Linked DNA regions of Homo sapiens: regions 1 and 2 are each linked to region 3. The links are contacts of gene promoters, found by promoter capture Hi-C in human tissues and cell types (Jung and others, 2019). All regions are on one chromosome and are shown on one strand. Each heading gives the region's core, a stretch centred on a gene start or on the middle of the fragment in contact. The rest is flanking DNA. Distances are from core to core; before and after follow the strand shown. Region 1 has its middle 7.7 kb from the start of ZNF181. Region 2 holds the start of ZNF527 (zinc finger protein 527). Region 3 holds the start of OVOL3 (ovo like zinc finger 3).

Region 1 (2,700 bases), core at 187-2,686, 1.4 Mb after region 3:
CTAGAAGTGCTGGTTCTTAGGTGTTAGCCCCTGAATGAATAGATGTGGATCAGATTTGAGCCCAACCTACAGGAGGGGTCAAGTCCTATCAGGCCCACAGATTGAGTGTTCACTATCTAGCCAAGACCAGCTTATATCAGCTGAAACACCAGCTGTTGTAACCGAGTGAGTTGTAGAGAAACGCCACACTCTGAGACTAATTCAGGAGTCCTTTTATTGCTGGTGACCGAGAGATGGCTAGTGCTCAAAATTCTCTCAGCCCTAAAGAAGGGGCTAGATTTTCTTTTATACTTTGGTTTAGAAAGGGGAGGGGGAGCCTAGCTGAAGCAATTTTACAGAAGTAAAACAGGCAAAAAAGTTAAAAGGACAAATGGTTACAGGAAAGAAAAATAGTTCCAGATGCAAGGGCTTTAAATCTATCAAAGGGTGATAGACACAGGTGCTTTAGGTACCATCAACAGACACAGACACGGGGGCTTTGGGTACTATCAACCAGGTGAATTCCTGGGAACTGTGGATATAGCTTGCCACAGTATCTTATCAGTAATTGCATTCTTTGATGTGCTGGGAGTCAGCTTGCACAAGTTAAGTCCTTGAGGAAGGGGGGTGGGTAAGGGGCTGCAAGTGAAGGAGCCAAAATGGAGTCTGTCCCGCTCTCTCAGCTAAGGGAGAATCAATTTCAGGTTAAAACAAGGTAGGATATCACATTTCCCACTTGTGTTTTGGGGGAATCAAATCATTGATTACTCAGTTTTAACAAGGGGGTTATATTGGGCTTTAAGATACATAAGCTTGACAGAAGCTGTGCATTGCTTTACAAAGTTAAGAAACCAATTTAATATACAAGGCTCGAAGACTAAGCCTAACAATAGGAGGAGGAGGAGGGGTCCAGCTAACCCAGTGATTAGAGTAGTTAGCCATGGATTCCAGTTAAACATGCTTTGGTACCAGGGGGGTGTTATTTTCCCGCTCCTGCTGGTGTCTATCTAGATTCTCTTGAACTTTTTGGAGAGTATCTTTTATGACCCCAGACTGACTGGCACAGAAGCAACAACTCTCTCCCAGAGCTGTGCATAACCCTCCTTGAGAGACAAATAGCAGATATAAGCCTCAGCGGTTTTGAAGAGCTACTTTAGCTAGAGACTCTACTTGGGTATGGAGTATATCTATGGTTGATTGGAGATGGCTTAAATCAGCATCTACTTGTTGAGATAGGGACATTAGTCCAGTTTCTCCCTGAATGAAGGCAGCCATGCTGATGGCTACCAACCCAGCTGTGCTTAGGCCGGCCAGGAGGGGTACAAGGAGTAGGGCGGCTCGGCAAAACCTGGTATGCAATTCAGGGGGAGTGATGAGAAGTTGTCCTTCTGTCCCACTGTATACGTAGACCTGGGGGAGCACATGAACCAACACACACAAGAGAGGTCCTGGTTCAGTCCCATTGATGCAGCGAGTGAGACCTGAAGTGCAGGCTAACCAGGTATTGTTAGGTGCCTGGTAGGAGACTGAGGTGCTTAAGGAAGTAAGTAAAGACTGATAACAGGTAGCCTGAAAGGGAGAAGCAGATAAATTATATCCAGTGCTAATTAGACAAGAAGCATTCCCGGACACGTCTCCTAGTGTGAGGGCACAGGGGCATGTATGACAAGAAAGAGAGTCAATATTAAGCATGGCTTCTACTCCTAATCCAACATAATAAGGGGGTTTGGCCTTTAGGCACAACCAACAATCTCAGGCTAGTTTAGGCTGGGTGAGATTGAGGAGGTGATGTACCCTGCCCAGAATGGACATCAGGCTGGGTTGGAGGTGTTGTTGTTGCAGCTGAGGTTTAGGAACCAGGAAAGGCGGCGGGACAGTTAAGTTGACACTGTCTGGGTATTTTTGGAACACAGGGTCACCTAAATCAGTTAAAGGCCCGATTGGCTTAGGAGGGCTCCATGGGACCAGGATTTTTTTTTTTTTGGATGGTGAACATAGTTCCAACATCAAATCCTGGGATATAAAGCCTTAATCCCAAGACATGCCATAATTCCATTGAGCTAAATTAGGATTATGAACAGTTATAGTAAGGGGATTACAATTTCTCTTAGTCCACAGTTTAGGACAGGAAGCACAAGCTATGGAAAGGGTTGAAGATCGGGTTGATCCCCCAGAGTAGGTGGCCAAAGTTACACATGTCCAGTCAGGGCAGAAAAACTGGTAAGAATCTCAACAACTAGAGTTAGGGTGATTTCGAGGACAGAGGTAAAAGTCAACATTCTGGAGTCCTTTTTCTGCACCTTTGGAGCTCCCACATCCTGTCTGGCTTCCGGAGTGTCCAAACCCTGCAGCAAGGTCAACGTTCCCTGCTCCTATGATCGGCAGATTGTGTTGCTCTTCGAGAGTATGGGCAGGCTCTGGGAACAGAGCACATAAATCACTGCAAAAAAGACTTCCTCAGAGGTTCCTGCCTTCCAGGTGGTGTTTGCAAACACAGTCCTGTCGTGAAAGAAGTAAGGAGAAAAGAGTAGGAAGGAGCAGAGGGCATGACAGGTGGAAACAAAAGAGATAAAGAATTAATCTAATGGCTTCACTCAACTTAGGCGCAGTTTTAAGGGGCTTGTCCCAGGCTTGGGGACCCATGTTTCTTGCTGGGCTTTGTTGGTCTTCTTGATGCGAGAGTGATGAATCCAGCCGGAATGCTGTCTACTTTCAGAGCTG
Region 2 (2,700 bases), core at 111-2,610, 1.3 Mb before region 3:
AGAAAAGAAAAGAAAGGGACAACTGTGGTTGACCTAGAATTCAGTATACATCACCCCCTAATTTCACCCCCTAATTCTGGACTACTTTGCACTAGGCAACTCAGTCCCTAGCAGTTATTTCCTTAGTGTAGTGCAGCTTGAAATTGTCCATAAAAACTGCAGCAGGGCGCAGCGCCTCACGCCTGTAATCCCAGCACTGTGGGAGGCTCTGGTGGGCGGATCATGAGGTCAGGAGTTGGAGACCAGCCTGGCCAAACATGGTGAAACCTCGTCTCTACTAAAAATACAAAAACTAGCTGGGCGTGGTGGTGCGCGCCTGTAATCCCAGCTACTTGGGAGGCTGAGGCAGGAGAATCACTTGAACCTGGGAGGCGGAGGTTGCAGTGAGCCGAGATCGCATCATTGCACTCCAGCCTGGGCAATAGAGTGAGACTCCATCTCAAGAGAAAAAAAAAAAAAAAAGCGAGACCTCTAGAGCTAAACTGCTTGGGTTTGAGTTCTGGTGCTGTCACTTGTTAACTGTGTGAACTTGGGTAATTCTAATATTTCTGTGCTTCATACATCAATCCCACAATCTCATATATACACACAAATTCTCACCCAATCACAAATGTATAGAGTCACACAAACACACCCATAATCTCACACAATACACAGCCACATAAGCACAAAGATAGATGGTAACATACAACTACACCAACAGAGATAAACAATCACACACAATCACACACAAAGTAGCATACCACAGAAGTCACACATCTTGTCACAATTACTGATACAAAACTATACCTGCGGAGACAGATGGTCATAGTCGCACAATCACACTTGCTGTCACACACATTCAAACGCAATTGTATCCGCAGAAACAGGTGGTCACATAACCACACACATGCATTTACACAAACACACAATGTCACACCCCAGTCTCTCATAAACACATACACAGCTACACCTGCAGAGACAGTCACACACAAACACACATATTCACAGTTTCACCCCCAGACACAGATGGTTACAGTCACACACAAGCGGGCGCACGCGCACAAACACACACACACAGTGACACAAGATCACATTCTGTCACACCCGCAGCCTGTCACATAGTTGGTAATACAGTGAAACACACACGGCCTCCCCAGCGACTCCTGCCGGGTTCCCATCCCTGGCGCGGCCGGGCCACCCGGAGCCCGCCCTTGACTTCCCGCTCCCGCCCGGGGCCCGGCCCCACTCACCTCCCGGCGCCGCGGGCTCTGCAAACGGGCCCCGCGACCGAGACCCGCGACGTCACCTCCCAGAATCCTCCGCGAGGAGGAGCGAGGCGAGGACTGAGGCATGCAGGACTCTGAGCTCTGCGAGATCTGAACCAGCGACACCGCGTTCCCCATGGACCCCGCGAACCACGAGCCCCAGAACGCTTTGCGCCACGGCCGTCATCGTTGAACTACATCTCCCAGAGAACCCCGCGGCCCCCTCCACTGCGCGCCTGCGCCACGGGGGCAGGTACCGGAGAGGGCTGTGTGCGGTCGTAGGCTCTCCAGTGACCTTGAGCTGCTGTGTTGGGGAAAGCGGCCAGGCTGCGCGCGGGGCTGACTGGTTGAATGCTTGGGTGTGGTGGTTCGTGTGTGACTGTTGCTGCACACCTTTATGCTTGCCGACGAAAGGAGCGGCGGATTTTGTCAGTGCAGGGAGCTTCTGTATTTTAAATCACGTCCCGTGATTGTGGGTAGCTGAATGTGAAAGTGATTGTGGATGAAAGAGACTGTGGCTGACATTGGGGGTGACCGTTTCTGTTACTGTGAGGATACCACTGATCCGATGTGTATCTGACTGTCTCCTGGTCTTACTGTTCCTTCACCCCCATCTCCTGCCATGGGCGGGGTCTGTGGTATCTTTTATTGAGGCAATCTCGGCGCTCACTGCAACCTCCGCCTCCCGGGTTCAAGCGATTCTCTTGCCTCAGCCTCCTGAGGAGCTGGGATTACAGGCACCTGCCACCACGCCCAGCTAATTTTTGTATTTTTAGTAGGGATGGGGTTTCACCATGTTGGCCAGGATGGTCTTCATCTCCTGAACTTGTGATCCACCTGCCTCGGCCTCCCCAAGTGCTGGGGTTACAGGCATGAGCCATCGCACCCGGCCTATTTTATTATTATTATTATTTCTCAATTGGTCAAAATAATATATTTAACATTTTAATATTATTAAACATACAAAAGGCCACACTTTGGCCCTCCTCTAGTCAAGCAGTTTCCTTCCTGGTGAAAGTCCATAGGCAGAAACATGCCTGCAAAGATCTCACAACCTTCTTTCAGACCATGCTCTGGGTATCCAAATCCCCAGGATTTCCTGTTCAAATGGACTCCAGCCTGCTTCCAGAGCCTGTATCTCCTCTGTGTCCAAAGACCCTTCCCTTGATCTGTCTTCCAAAGGTGGAATGTGCTGCCTATCCACAAAATGTGGCCAAATGAGAGCAATTTGGTAAGGCTAGACAGAGCTTAGATATGCAAGCTGGAGTGTCCACATGTGGGAATAGAAGACCTCTTACGATGTGGGACAAGGATGGCAGTGGGAACAGAAGGGGACTGGCTGGGGACCTCCATCTGTACTGTTGACCCAGGTCTCTACATGTCAATGACAGGCTCATTTATGTATAAACTATTTTGGAGACCAATGGTCTTATGATGATGGTGGTTTGAATTA
Region 3 (2,700 bases), core at 33-2,532:
CCTCAGCCTCCCCACGATTACACGATTGTAGGCATGCGCCACATGCCCAGTTAATTTTTTTATTTTTTGTAGAGATGGGGTTTCACCATGTTGGCCAGGCTGGTCTTGAATTCCTGACCTCAAGCAATCCACCCACCTTGGCCTCACAAAGTGCTGGGATTACAGGCATGAGCCACTATGCCCGGTCTATTTTTCTAATTTTATTGTTTTTTTTGAGGGGGGATGGAGTCTAGATCTGTTTCCCAGGCTGGAGTGCAGTGGCGCAGACTCGGCTCACTGCATCCTCTGCCCTGCCTCCTAGGTTCAACTGATTCTCCTGCCTCAGCCTCCTGAGGAGCTGGGATTACAGGCACGTGCCACCATGTCTGGCTAATGTTTGTAATTTTAGTAGAGACAAGGTTTCAACATGTTGGCCAGCCTGGTCTCGAACTCATGACCTCAAGTGATTCACCCGCCTCGGCCTCCCAAAGTGCTGGAATTACAGGCTGACTAATTTTATTGTCTATACATGCAGCCCCAACCAGAATATAAGCTCCATAAAATTGTGGATTTTTGTCTTATTCCCGCTGAATATAACAGCCCATGCCTAGAACAGTGCCTTGCTTTCATGAATATATTACATTCCGGCTGGCGCTTTCCTTCCTCCAATGCATGCACAGCTGAAAAAGCCCTTATCTCCCATCGCACTCCTGTTGCCTTGTCCCATGTTCTGACATAAAGCGGATCATCCACATGTGGGGATGAATCTTGTGCCCCGCTGGAAGAGATCCCTGTGGCTGCCGGCCCTGGTGCCTGGGGTGAGACCTAACAGTAGAGAGCTCACTACTAGGAAAGGAGAGGCATTCCCAACACAGAGAAGTAGGGGCGGACAGGTCCCGAGGCTGGAGGGCGTGTGCAGATGGGTCGGGGGAGCAAGGGGCTGTCAGCTTCATTAAGGCTGAGAGCAGGCAGGAGCGAAACAGCTGGCTTTGCTAGCCAGTTACACACTCACCGCTGTCCACGGATCCCTGACACTGGACGACTGTTGTGCCGGTGGCCCCCCCAGGCTGCTGCAGTCTGAGGAGAAAAGCCAGATGGTGACACTGCGTCTCTCCTGCCCCTTACCTCCAGGCACAGTGAGGGGCCCACCTGGGATATAGGCATCTCCCCGGAGCTGGTCAGGCAGATGGCCCCAGTTGGGGGGCTGTGGACGCCGACTCCTGACCAGGAAGGCGCGGGGCATGCCCTCCGGAAGGCTCTCCACACACAGGGGCTGCTTCCACCTGCTGTCAGACCTCAGCCCCAGGATGACTATCCCTGGTGGGAAAGGAGGGGAAGCCTCTGAGGAACCTCATTCTCTTCATGCAAATTTCCTGGCTGGCCCTGGGAGTGGACTAAGCTGGCTCAGGTTACCCCTGCCTGGGGACCTGCCCATCTTCTCCCAGGTTTTGGAGGGAACCATCCAGCCTCCAGGGGTGGACAAGCACTAGGACCACCAAGCAGAGCCAGGCAAGGGGAGATGGGCCTGGGGAGCTTTTGAGGATAGGAAGAAGAAACAAGGCCCCAGGGGGACTGTCTCCCAGGGGTTGAGGGTCTGTTTGCCAGGCAAATCAGTCACCAGGGGACATCCAGCAGCCTGCCTGGTTATTCAAATCACAGCAGCTGTCTGAGGACACTGAAGGGGCCCCCTGCTGTGATTGCCCTGCTCTGTAGGGTGCAGGGAGGACAGCAGATCTGGATAAATCAGGGCAAAATGAGGATCCAGGCTGTGCATCCTCAGGTAGGATGCCCCACCTCTCTGATCTTCAGATTCCCAGGGCTAACATTCAGCCAGAAGCACTGTTCAGGTGTAGCAGGCACTAAAATACTAGTTTGTTAATAATCTAGCCCCTAGTTACTGCCTGGGACAACACTCTTCCTCCCTCCCACAGTCTGGAAAGTAAAAGGGGGTCTCCTATTTTTTTTTCTTTTTTTGAGACGGAGTTTCACTCTTGTTGCCCAGGCTGGAGTGCAGTGGCACCATCTTGGCTCACTGGAACCTCCACCTCCCGGGTTCAAACGATTCTCCTGCCTCAGCCTCCTGAGTAGCTGGGACTACAGGCATGCACCACCACACCGGGCTAATTTTTGTATTTTTGGTAGAGACAGAGTTTCACCATGTTGGCCAGGCTAGTCTTGAACTCCTGACGTCAAGTGATCCGCCTGCCTTGGCCTCCCAAAGTGCTGGGATTACAGGCATGAGCCACCGCACCTGGCCCAAAGGGGGTCTCTTGACACAGCCAGGGGCTCCCAGGACCCTACCCCGGCACACTGGCCAAGCTGTTTTACACTTGATTCTTAGCCAGAAGACTAAGAAGCAATCCAAGCTCTGTTTTTTAATTTTTTTTTTTTGAGGCGGAGTTTTGCTCGTTGCCCAGGCTGGAGTGCAATGGCGTGATCTTGGCTCCTCTATGACCTCCGCCTCCTGGGTTCAAGTGAGTCTCCTGCCTCAGCCTTCCAAGTAGCTGGGATTACAGGGGCACACCACTGCACCCAGCTGATTTTTTGTGTTTTTTGTAGAGATGGGGTTTCACCATGTTGGCCAGGCTGGTCTCAAACTCCTAAATGCAGGTGATCCGCCCGGCTCAGCCTCCCAAAGTGCTGGGATTACAGGCGTGAGCCACCGCGCCCAACCTGTTTTTATTTTTTTTGTTTTGTTTTGTTTTGTTTTTTGAGACAGAT

Evidence for each region. The method cuts DNA at HindIII sites, captures the fragments that hold promoters and counts their contacts. A contact is called where the count stands out against the background at its distance.
Region 1: a contact is called between a fragment that was not itself captured here and the fragment with the promoter of OVOL3 in region 3, in 1 of the 25 tissues and cell types used here (bladder).
Region 2: a contact is called between the fragment with the promoter of ZNF527 here and the fragment with the promoter of OVOL3 in region 3, in 1 of the 25 tissues and cell types used here (dorsolateral prefrontal cortex).

What each region holds. Positions count from the first base shown.
Region 1 is chr19:34,725,241-34,727,940 of GRCh38, reverse strand. No RefSeq gene overlaps it. Among named protein-coding and RNA genes, the nearest start is that of ZNF181, 7.7 kb to the left of the region's middle. The HindIII fragment of the contact is 8,763 bases long and covers 1-2,700 here.
Region 2 is chr19:37,369,759-37,372,458 of GRCh38, reverse strand. It overlaps ZNF527 (zinc finger protein 527), which reads right to left and starts at 1,360. Exons shown (of 5, transcript NM_032453.2): 1 at 1,233-1,360. RefSeq lists a silencer at 961-1,270 and enhancers at 1,301-1,610, 1,781-1,830, 1,851-1,990. The HindIII fragment of the contact is 11,070 bases long and covers 1-2,700 here.
Region 3 is chr19:36,109,725-36,112,424 of GRCh38, reverse strand. It overlaps OVOL3 (ovo like zinc finger 3), which reads right to left and starts at 1,282. Exons shown (of 4, transcript NM_001302757.2): 1 at 1,129-1,282; 2 at 992-1,056. The coding sequence starts at 1,222. It also overlaps a transcript of WDR62 not described here. RefSeq lists enhancers at 423-1,052, 1,053-1,683. The HindIII fragment of the contact is 22,945 bases long and covers 1-2,700 here.